Linked DNA regions of Homo sapiens: all the other regions are linked to region 2. The links are contacts of gene promoters, found by promoter capture Hi-C in blood cells and fetal thymus (Javierre and others, 2016). All regions are on one chromosome and are shown on one strand. Each heading gives the region's core, a stretch centred on a gene start or on the middle of the fragment in contact. The rest is flanking DNA. Distances are from core to core; before and after follow the strand shown.

Evidence for each region. Contacts are between HindIII fragments. The CHiCAGO score rates a contact against its expected background, and 5 or more counts as called.
Region 1: a contact is called between a fragment that was not itself captured here and the fragment with the promoter of SERPINB6 in region 2, in 13 of 17 cell types (monocytes, naive B cells, total CD8 T cells and 10 more). The highest score is 9.6, in monocytes.
Region 3: a contact is called between a fragment that was not itself captured here and the fragment with the promoter of SERPINB6 in region 2, in 3 of 17 cell types (total CD8 T cells, total B cells and neutrophils). The highest score is 6.5, in total CD8 T cells.
Region 4: a contact is called between a fragment that was not itself captured here and the fragment with the promoter of SERPINB6 in region 2, in 1 of 17 cell types (total CD8 T cells). The highest score is 6.0, in total CD8 T cells.

The regions. Positions count from the first base shown.
Region 1 is chr6:2,787,900-2,790,599 of GRCh38, forward strand. No RefSeq gene overlaps it. Among named protein-coding and RNA genes, the nearest start is that of WRNIP1, 24 kb to the left of the region's middle. The HindIII fragment of the contact is 302 bases long and covers 1,119-1,420 here.
Region 2 is chr6:2,970,237-2,972,946 of GRCh38, forward strand. It overlaps SERPINB6 (serpin family B member 6), which reads right to left and starts at 1,331. Exons shown (of 7, transcript NM_004568.6): 1 at 1,297-1,331. RefSeq lists an enhancer at 1,112-1,636. The HindIII fragment of the contact is 12,287 bases long and covers 1-2,710 here.
Region 3 is chr6:2,812,617-2,815,316 of GRCh38, forward strand. LOC124901241 (a long non-coding RNA gene) reads right to left here and starts at 138. Exons shown (of 3, transcript XR_007059408.1): 1 at 1-138. The HindIII fragment of the contact is 6,275 bases long and covers 1-2,700 here.
Region 4 is chr6:2,769,096-2,771,795 of GRCh38, forward strand. It overlaps WRNIP1 (WRN helicase interacting protein 1), which reads left to right. Exons shown (of 7, transcript NM_020135.3): 3 at 1,025-1,266. It also overlaps a transcript of MYLK4 not described here. Among named protein-coding and RNA genes, the nearest start is that of WRNIP1, 5.1 kb to the left of the region's middle. The HindIII fragment of the contact is 356 bases long and covers 1,146-1,501 here.

The DNA.
Region 1 (2,700 bases), core at 20-2,519, 180 kb before region 2:
GAAATGGTACCCAAGCCCCTGGCTCTATCTGGGCCCCTCTGGTTCAGAGATCTTCCCCTGGCCTGGAGTAGGAGAGGGTGTCTGGAGACCCATCTTCCTCTTCCTTACCTGCTGCCACCTCCCAAGCCTCTGAGACGTCTGCCACGTTGATGCCTTGGCATTCCCCACTCGACTTGCCAGGTCAGTTACCATTTGCCCGCCATGTTTCCACCTCCAGCATCATGTTGCCATTATCTCACTTGTTCTCCTCACTTTCAAGGATTGATGGATTTTAAGGATTCCTTTACTGTATTTTTGGTGGAGGCTTAGGAGGAAATAAAATCACATGTGGGTCCAATCCATTATCTTTACTAGTATTTCATTAAGAAATGTATAGCCCAGTTTTTTCTTGATTTTTTTTTTTTTTTTTTTGGAGACGGAGGCTTGTGCTCTTTTGCCCAGGCTGGAGTGCAATGACGCGATCTCGGCTCACTGCAACCTCCACCTCCTGGGTTCAAGCACTTCTCCTGCCTCAGCCTCCTGAGTAGCTGGGACTACAGGCACACACCACCACGCCTGGCTAATTTTTTTGTATTTTAGTAAAGACAAGGTTTTACTGTCTTGCCCAGGCTGGTCTCGAACTCCTGAGCTCAGGCAATCCGCCTGCCTCAGCCTCCCAAAATGCTAGGATTACAGGCATGAGCCACTGTGCCTGGCCAATTTTGATTCTTTAAAAATAACATTTTTACAGGCCAGGCGTGGTGGCTCACACCTGTAATCCCAGCACTTTGGGAGGCCAAGGCAGGTGGATCACGAGGTCAGGAGATCGAGACCATCCTGGCTAACAAGGTGAAACCCCGTCTCTACTAAAAATACAAAAAATTAGCCGGGCGCGGTGGCGGGCGCCTGTAGTCCCAGCTACTCGGGAGGCTAAGGCAGGAGAATGGCGTGAACCCGGGAAGCGGAGCTTGCAGTGAGCCGAGATTGCGCCACTGCAGTCCGCAGTCCAGCCTGGGCGACAGAGCGAGACTCCGTCTCAAAAAAAAAAAAAAAAAAAAAATTTTTGTTGGGGGATGGAGTTACTTCCAAATAAGAAGTGTGCTTGTGATGTAACCGGAGGTGACATTAACTCCTCAACAAGCTTTTCCGTCATGACTCACTCCTGCCAGTTTCCCAAGGGACGGATCCCAGTGGTGGTCAAGGCACAGGTGTGAATTTATGCCAGGACGATATGTGAGCATCGTAACTCAAGCCAACAGATAAGTGATGAGGGCTTTTTGAGATCCATCATCCTATTAGACATGCGGCCCTGAACACAGTGTGTAACGCGGACACGGGGCCTGTGCTGGAGCACGCGGTGCTGGGGAGAGCCTGCAGCACACTTTCTGCTGTATCCAGCAGCGGGGCACTGAGCAGCCAACTTTCTGTAACTGTAAAATCAAGCTTGAAAGTTTGCAAATGCTTGTTTTTTGGTTTCAAAGAATCTTATTTTGTGAAAGCAGATTTTTAAAGTTTTTAAAGCAGATATTCACTGCCTGAATGAATACCTCTCACATACCACAGTGAGCATGACTGAAAGTTTACACCATTAGCTAAACCCTGGGAAAAACTAATGCAGTGAGTCAGAGTTTCTGGTGAGGGAGGCACATCTCTTGCCTGTTTACAGTAGTATTCAACAATTGGGGGCAGCCCTTCCATATGATGCCATTTAAATACCACAAGTTATGGGCCAGGTGCGGTGGCACACACCTGTAATCCCAGCACTTTGGGAGGCTGAGGCGGGCAGGTCACTTGAGATCAGGAGTTTGAGACCAGCCTGGGCAACATGGTGAAACGTCGTTTCTATTAAGTATATAAAAATTGGCTGGGTGTGGTGGCGCACACCTGTAATCTCAGCTACTCAGGAGCCTGAGGCAGGAGAATCGCTTGAACCTGGGAGGTGGAGGTTGCAGTGAGCCGAGATCGCGCCACTGCACTCCAGGCTAGGTGACAGAGTGAGACTCCATCTTAAAAAATAATAATAAATAAGTAAATAAATAAATATCACAAGTTATGTACTGATTCTGAAAAAGCAACATAACCACCAAACACAATTTATTCCTTATGTTCCAAGTGTATTTGGTAGTTTTGTTCACCCTCATAACAGCCAAACCTGAGTTTAAGAACAGTAAGAATAGTGACTTGCAGAGATTTGTTCCAATTGTTACAACAAGAATGGATGTTAACTCATCTTTTCCAGATACAAGTCATCAAACCTGGACAATGTTATCAATTAATTCCAAATGAGAGAACCGGCCTTTTGATACTGATGTTATATTAGAAAGGATGATTTTCCTATACTTTCATATAAATGCCATGGATCTCTTACTTTTTGATGAATTAACCTTTGTGTAGCGACTACAGTTTGAAAGCACTACTACACATTCATAGATGCAGTTCCAGGCAGTTTGAGCCCACAAAGGCATTTATAACTTAAGCAGAAACCAAACAGAAGTAAATATTTTTAATAGAGTTAACAAATCTTCATAAAAACCAATCATTTAAAACTAAATGTTTTGAAGCTCTAAAGCCAGTCAGGCTCCGGGGAGGATGCAGATGATCCCCTCAGGCCACTGAGAAACTTTTAATCAGGGATCACAAGTATTAGAGAGGTATAGGGGAGGTTCAGGGGACCAACACAAGGTGAGAAGCAATTCCCTGGCAAGGCCTGAGAGGCAAGGG
Region 2 (2,710 bases), core at 81-2,580:
CTGTTACTGGTCCGTGTTAACTGTTTCATGCTGAATTGTAATAAAATGCATTGGAATTGGCCTTAACTTAAAATACTTAGTTTACATAGTCGAGTATGACCAAAGTACTTTTCTCTTTGGTGGCACATCACAATGGATGCAATTACTCAGATACGGTCCTGAAATGAGAACAAACGCCATCTATGCTGATAACAGCAGTCACTGGTGTTAATCCCAGCACACATAAAAGCCCCAGCAATACAAGGCCGGCCCAGGACCTTAACTAGAAGGTCACTGAACACATCAGATCTCATCGCATCAGGCCTGACCCCCACCAGAAAGGATGCAGGCAGCTGCAGGGCTGTCATTAGGCACGAGAGCATCCCAGAAAGCAAAAGTGCCCAAAAAATGGACTCAGATGCCCCCTCGCATCTGAGTATTCCTGACAGCATGTGAACATTAATTATTAATTTTCTGTACCTCAGTTTTCCGAAGCCAATCTTTAGGACAAAAAAAAAAAAAAAAAAAAGGAAGAAAATAACTTAAATGCCAATTTGTAGTTAAAGTTTCCTCTTTGCCTTGAAGACATCAAAGCCTGTAATAGTTTGCCTGTAGGGAGTTTAATTCAAACACAGAGCGGTAAGGAGATCCGGGCTGGTCCACACGATCGTCTCCACAGGTCTGGGCGACCTGAAAGTGCTGCGGATTGGCCAAGCCCAGCACGGCCAGTCCAGTGAACACACGCAGGGGGCCCGGATGGCACCGTTTGGCGCCGAACCCCTCGGCCTCTCTCCGCCTCCCGCCCGGCTCCTAACACCCGGCGCCCCAAGACTGAGCACGCGTCCTCCGGGTCGCGGAGCGGGCGAGGGGTCACCGAGGCCGCGGGGCCGACCGGGGTCACCTGTGGCCCGGGAGGCTCTGCGCCGCCCCCATCCCGCGCCGGCCGCCTCTTCCGTGGGCGCTGGGCCTGGGCGCCCGGGGTCCTCGGGTCCGCGGCGTCACCGGCCGGGCTCGCGGCCACGCACGACTCACCCGGCCGCGTCGCCGTTCTCTGCCGCTGCGAGGCTCCGGAAGGGAACCCAAGCCGGACGCTCGCCCGGGCCCCCGCCCCGCTGGGACTGCTGGGGTCACAGCCCCGCGCGGCCACGCCCCATTCTCGGGGCTCCAGCGTCCCCGCGCGCCGTCGACCCACGCGCGTTCCCGGCCCCGCGCGACCCCCACCCTGCCCCCCTCCCCGCTCGCGCCCCCGGCTTTCCCGACTTTGGAGCGACAAACCCAAGCCAGCGTGTCCGAGCGGCTCCCAAGCCAGACACGTACTCCAGAGCGGGGAGCGAGCGAGCAGAACGGCGGGCAGAGGCGCCGGAGCCGCCCCGGACCTCAAATACTCGCGGGGAGGCGGGCGGAGTCCCGGGTCTCGAGCTACCGTCGCCCGTCCGGAGCGCGAAGGGAGAGGCGGGGCGGGACGTGCGGGTCAACCCCACCCGCCAGCCGGAGGGGCCGCGAGTCCTGCCCGGAGGCCTTGACTTTGACCACAGTACAGGGCCCCACCAGCGTGTTTATGGTGCCTCTGTGGAGACTGAATGCTGGCCTGTTTCCAGAAAAGGGCCGGCTCCTGATACACGGCCATCCACTGGGGAGTGCAGAACACGCATTTAAAAATGAGCAGACTAGATACAGGTCACAAAGACTTTGCTGATGAAACAGCTTGCGGCAAAGAAGCCAGCCAGGGGCGGGCGCGGGGCTCACGCCAGTAATCCCAACACTGGGAGGCCGAGGCAGGCGGATCACTGGAGGTCAGGAGTTCCAGACCAGCCTGGCCAACATGGCAAAACCCCGTCTCTACTAAAAATACAAAAATTAGCCGAGTGTAATGGCGCGTGCCTGTAATCTCAGTTGCTGGGGAAGCTGAGGCAGGAGAATCACTTGAACCCGGGAGGCAGAGGCTGCAGTGAGCCGAGATGGCGCCACCGCACTCCAGTCTGGTCCGTCTCAAAAAAAAAAAAAAAAAAAAAAAAAAAAAAAGTAGACTAAATAGCTTTTGCAAAGCAAAAGGAATAGTCAAGCAGAGTAAACAGACAACCTACAGAGTGGGAGAAAATCTTCACAATCTATACATCCGACAAAGCAGTAATATCCAGAATCTACAAGAAACTCAAACAAATTAGCAAGAAAAAAAAATCCCATCAAAAAGTGGGCTGGCATGAATAGACAGTTCTCAAAAGAGGATATGCAAATGGCCAACAAACAAGAAAAAATGCTCAACATCACTAATGATTAGGGAAATGCAAATCAAAACCACAATGTGATACCACCTTACTCCCGCAAGAGTGGCCTTAATCAAAAAATCAAAAACTCAAAAAATAATAGATGTTGGCGTGGATTTGGTGAAGAGGGAACACCTCTACACTGCTGATGGATAGTACAACCACTGTGGAAAATAGTATGGCGATTCCTTAAATAACTAAAAATAGAACTACCATTTGATCCAGCAATCCCACTACTGGGTATCTACGCAGAGGAAAATAAGTCATTATACAAAAAAGATACTTGCACACGCATGTTAATAGCAGCACAATTCGTAATTGCAAAAACATGAAACCAACCCAAATGCCCATCAATCAAAGAGTGGATAAAGAAACTGTGGTATGCGTATACGGTGGAATGCTACTCAGCCATAAAAAGGAATGAATTAATGGCATTGGCAACCTGGATGGGATTGGAGACTGTTGTT
Region 3 (2,700 bases), core at 54-2,553, 160 kb before region 2:
ACTCAGGAGGCTGAGGCAGGAGAATCATTTGAACCTGGAAGGCGGAGGTTGCAATGGGCCGAGATCACGTCACTGCACTTGAGCCTGGGCCACAGAGCAAGACTCTATCTCAAAAAAAAAAAAAAAAAAAAAAAAAAAAAGAAGGAATGGGTTGGAGACAGAGATTTCTTTAACAGCTTTGTTGAGGTATATTGACATATCGTAAACTGCCCATATTTAAGGTATATATTTGCTAAGTTTTGACATATGTATACACCTGTGAAATCATCATCACAATCAAGATGGCAAACATATCCCTTAGCCCCCCAAATTTCTTCATTCCCTTTTATAATCCCTCCCTCCCTTCCCCAGTCCAGGCAATCATCGACCTGCTTTCTGTCACTGCAGACTAGTTAGCAATTACAAGAATTCTATAATATATACTCTTTTCTAGTCTTTTTTTTTTTTTTTTTTTTGAGACGGATTCTTGCTCTGTCACCCAGGCTGGAGTGCAGCGGCGCGATCTCAGCTCACTGCAAGCTCCACTTCCCGGGTTCACGCCATTCTCCTGCCTCAGCCTTCCGAGTAGCTGGGACTACAGGTGCCCGCCACCACGCCCGGCTAATTTTTTGCATTTTTAGTAGAGATGGGGTTTCACCGTGTTAGCCAGGATGGTCTCAATCTCCTGACCTCGTGATCCACCTGCCTCGGCCTCCCAAAGTGCTGGGATGACAGGCATGAGCCACCACGCCCCACCTGTTTTCTTGTCTTGCTTCTTTCACTCAACATAGGTATTTTTGGATTCACACATGTTGTAAAGTTTATCAATAATTTTTTTTTTTGCTAAGTAGTATTCCACTGTATGAATATATGACAATTTGTTTATTCATTCGTCTATTGGTTGACATTTTGGTTGTTTTTGGTTTTTGGCTATTGCAAATAAAACTATTAATTTGTGCATACAAGTCTTTGTGTGGGTCTATGCTTTCTTTTCTGGTAAACACCTATTAATAGAAGTGGAATGACCGGGTCACATGTCAGGTATATATTTAATTTTTTAGTAAATTGTTTTCCAAGCCAGGCACAGTGGCTCATGCCTGTAATCCCAGAACTTTGGGAGGCTGAGGTAGGAGGAACACTTGAGGCCAGAAGTCCAAGACCAGCCTAGGCACTATAGCAAGACCCCATCTCTAAAAGAAAAAAAAGAAATTGTTTTCCAAAGTGGTGTAATAGTTGACATTGCCCCCAGAATATACATTTAGTGTGATCAGTCTTTTTAATTCTAACTATTCTGGTGGGTATACATCTCATGGTGGTTTTAATTTGCATTTCCCTAATGACGATCATTACATGACTAATGATGGTCCTTGCCTTGTTTTTTATCACAGGATGAAAGTATGGGCATCATAGGACGAAAGTAAAGTACCATTAAGTATGGACATATTTTCATGTGCTTATTTACCATCTATATATCTTCTTTGATGCAGTGTCTGTTCACATCTTTTGGCCATTTTTTAAAAAGTGCATATACATTGACATGCAGAGTGGAGTAATAGATAGTGGAGACTCAGAAAGGTGGAAGGTAGGAAGGGTGTGAGGAATGAAATACCACGTATTGGGCATAATGGACACTATTCGGGTGATGAGTACACTAGTAGCCCACACTTCACCACTATGCAATAAATCTGTATCACACAACTGCATTTGTACCCCATACATCTATAAAAATAAAAATTAAAAACATAAATAAATTGGGCTGTTTGTCTTCTTATTATGTAGTATTCTTTATACAGTCTACATACAAGTCCTTTGTCAAATATATGTCTTGCAAATATTATCTCCTGGTCTATGGCTTGCTTTTGAGGAGAAAAGAGTTTTTTTGTTCTGATAAAATCCAATATACTGTTTTTAAAAAAAATAGTTTGATTGTTTTATGTCATACTGAAGATTTCTTTGACAAACCCAGTGTCACTAAGATTTTCTTATATATTTTATTCTAGAAGTTATGCTTTTTTAAGCTCTTGCATTTGGGTCTATGCTTCATTCTGTAGTTCATTTTTGCATATTAAAATTATACACAAGGAATAGTGTTGAGATTCATATTTTTGCATATGGCTGTCAAATTGTCCCAGAACCATTTGTTGACAAGATTTTACTTTCCCCATAGAATTGCCTTGGCACATTTGTTAAAAATCAATTGACCGTATATGTGTGGGTCTATTTCTGGACTCTCTATTCTGCCCCATGTGTATATATAATATAGAATACATATATATATGTGTGTATATATATATCCTTAATCTCAATATCACACTACCTTGATTACTGGATCTTTATAACATGTCTTAAAATAAGGCATTTTAGACTGGGCACAGTGGCTCATGCTTGTGATCCCAGCATCTGGGGAGGCCGAGATGAGAGGATTGCTTGAGCCTGGGAGTTTGAGACCAGCCTGGGTGCCATAGCAAGACCTCACCTCTGCTAAAAATAATAATAATAAAATATTTTAAAGCCTCTAACGTTTTACATCTTTTTCAAAGTTGCTTTGACATGATTATTCTAGGTCTTTTGCATTTCCATGTAAATTTTAGATGTAGCTTTTCAGTTTCCACAAGTAGCCTGCTGAGATTCTGACTGGGATTGTATTAATCAACAGATCAATTTGGGGAGAATTCACATGTTAACAGTATTGAATCTTCCAGTCAACAGGCATGGTAATTC
Region 4 (2,700 bases), core at 74-2,573, 200 kb before region 2:
GGCATATCCCTGAGCTATACGTATCAGAAAAGCACCTTTGAATCAAATTTCCAGTTTTAGGAATTTTTAATCTAAATACTAGGAGTCATTGTGAACAGTAAAATAATGATTTTAAGGTCATTATTTTAATGGGTTTTTAAAAATTACTTTAACAGTATTTTTATTTTGAAAATTAAACAATCGGTATTTTCTGTAACTCCAGGCTCTGTCTTCAAGGTGAATGTTGGAAGAGCTAATGATTACTGTTTATTTAAATGGGTTTCTGAAATAAAAGGACACAAGCTATTTTTATAAACAAAGCCACTTAGGGATTTAAAAAAAAATAAACATTAAAATTTTATTGGGCTGAGATCTGAGAGCTATACTCTAAATAAAAAAAAATTAAATTTTTAGGCATAACTTTAAAAAATTTTTTTTTGTAACTTTTTAATCATACATAGAATATTTCACAAAACTCTACTGAGCCTTTTTTGAACCTTTTTGAATAAAAAGACCCTTTTAAAGTTCTGACGAGGCGTTAGCATTCTAGGTTTCATATTGGACCACTGACTCATCTTAGTATTTTTTCCCCATAAAACAGCATAATAGGAATAATAATAATATGATTGAGTGCTTGCTGTGGAAGAAGATTCTGGAAGTGTTAATGTTTTTGTGTGTTCTTGTCTATAAATAAATAGCTGTTACATATAAGCTATGTGCCAGTTCAGCCTTTGGTAGAAGATGGTTTTCTGAGTAAAGAAATCATTTATGTTGAAACTAAGCTAGAATTCTACTTAAAGCTATTAGTCTACCAGCAAGAGATCAGGCTTGGACGGGCATTCCAGAAGATGTGTTTCAGACTTAAAAGCAAGAGTTGTACTCCCCCAAATATTGCATCTATATTCAGTGAATATAAGGCTGCTGCTATTCCTGAACTCGAAAGATAAAAATGAGGAAAAGGAAGGAAGGGATAGCCAACTTACATAGGATTCTGCAGGTGGCTGTTGACTGGAATCACTTTTTTCTGTTTTCCTCCCATGATTAGGACACTTTCCTTCCTCACGTGGAATGTGGGACGATCACTCTGATTGGGGCAACCACTGAAAACCCTTCCTTCCAGGTCAACGCTGCTCTTCTGAGCCGCTGTCGAGTGATTGTTCTTGAGAAGCTTCCAGTAGAGGCAATGGTGACTATTTTAATGCGAGCGATCAACTCCCTGGGAATCCACGTCCTAGACTCTAGCCGTCCCACTGACCCTCTGAGCCACAGCAGCAACAGCAGCTCAGAGTAAGTTGACAGTGTGCAGCGTCCTGGGGGCACACACCTCCCAGAGAGTCTCCTGGCAGGGGGCCAGAAAGGGCCGGGCGTCAGTGAGGAGAGGGTGGGGACAGAGAAGAAATGTTGATCCGCCCGTAATGAAAATAAAAGAGGAGGGAAATGTTCGATTATACCTAACAAAGTTATCCCTGCACACTTGAAGATGCATTTTCCAGCCTCTAATATGTGTTTCTATAATTCTTCAAGCTTTAACTTTGCTTTGTTGTTTTGGTTCTTGGGTGTTTGCTTTTGTGCTTAGGCTTCTATGGGAAGCCTTATTGATGATTTGAAAGGCTTTATGTCCCTCATTGAATAGAACAAATAGATAGATAAATACTTTCTAGACTTACCATACAACTCTTTTGAGCATTGTACTCATGTTTCAATTTCTTTTTAACCTGCAGTTTAGCATTTTGTTAAAAAAAAAAAATCAAGTAAAAATTAACTTGTAACCTTAAAATTATGTAATCCTTTTTGTGTAGTTGAAACTCAGTTTCATGAAAGTAAAGGAATGTTAACTGAATATGACATTATAGGCTGTCCCTATCCTTTTAGTGACCTATTTCTGCATCATGAGTACCACATGAGCTCGTTAATGCACCAAGTGTATATCATAGATAATTTGATTTCTTGGGTCAGGGGTTTTCCTTTTTTTTAATATTAGAACATATTCTTCAGATGGTATTTGTTCATACGTTGGCTGAAATACTGCCATGGAACATAATCTGGTGTGATGAGAGGCTATTGCCCACCTCCTCCTGCTGTGGACTCTGCAGCTGCTCGTGCCTGCCCTGAGGCCAAGTTCTGGAGCCACTTTTCTGTGAGGATTAAAGTACAAGGCATAGTTTAGGCTCAGGGTTTAGGTTTCACCAGGCTCTCCCTATGTGTCTGGCCCCATTTGCTCCTGTCTGAGATGGAGGGAGAATTCTGCTGTGTCTAATGAAAGCATTGAAACATTTGGCCCGTGGACCACTGGGTAGGACAGAGTGGCCTTGTTTTGGAATACCGTTGTGATGGGGATAGCCATTACATCTGTGGCCACAAGCAGTGTGTGGAACCTGTGGTATCAGCCACATGGACTCATACTCAGAAGTGCTTTATGTGGTGGGCATTTGTCAGAGCCTAAGGGGGCTGCCAGCTCCTCATATGTAGTACAGGTTGAGTATCCCAAATCTGAAATCCAAAATGCTCCCAAATCTAAAGCTTTTTGAGCACCTTCATGATGCTGTGAAAGGAAATGCTTATTGGAGCACTTCAGATTTCTGGATTTTGGGTGCTCATCTGGTAAGTATATAATGCAAATATTCTAAAATCAAAAAAATAGGAAATTCAGACCACTTCTGGTCCCAGGCACTTCAGATGTGGGATACTCATGTGTAGGTTTCCCGTAACAGAATTCTCATT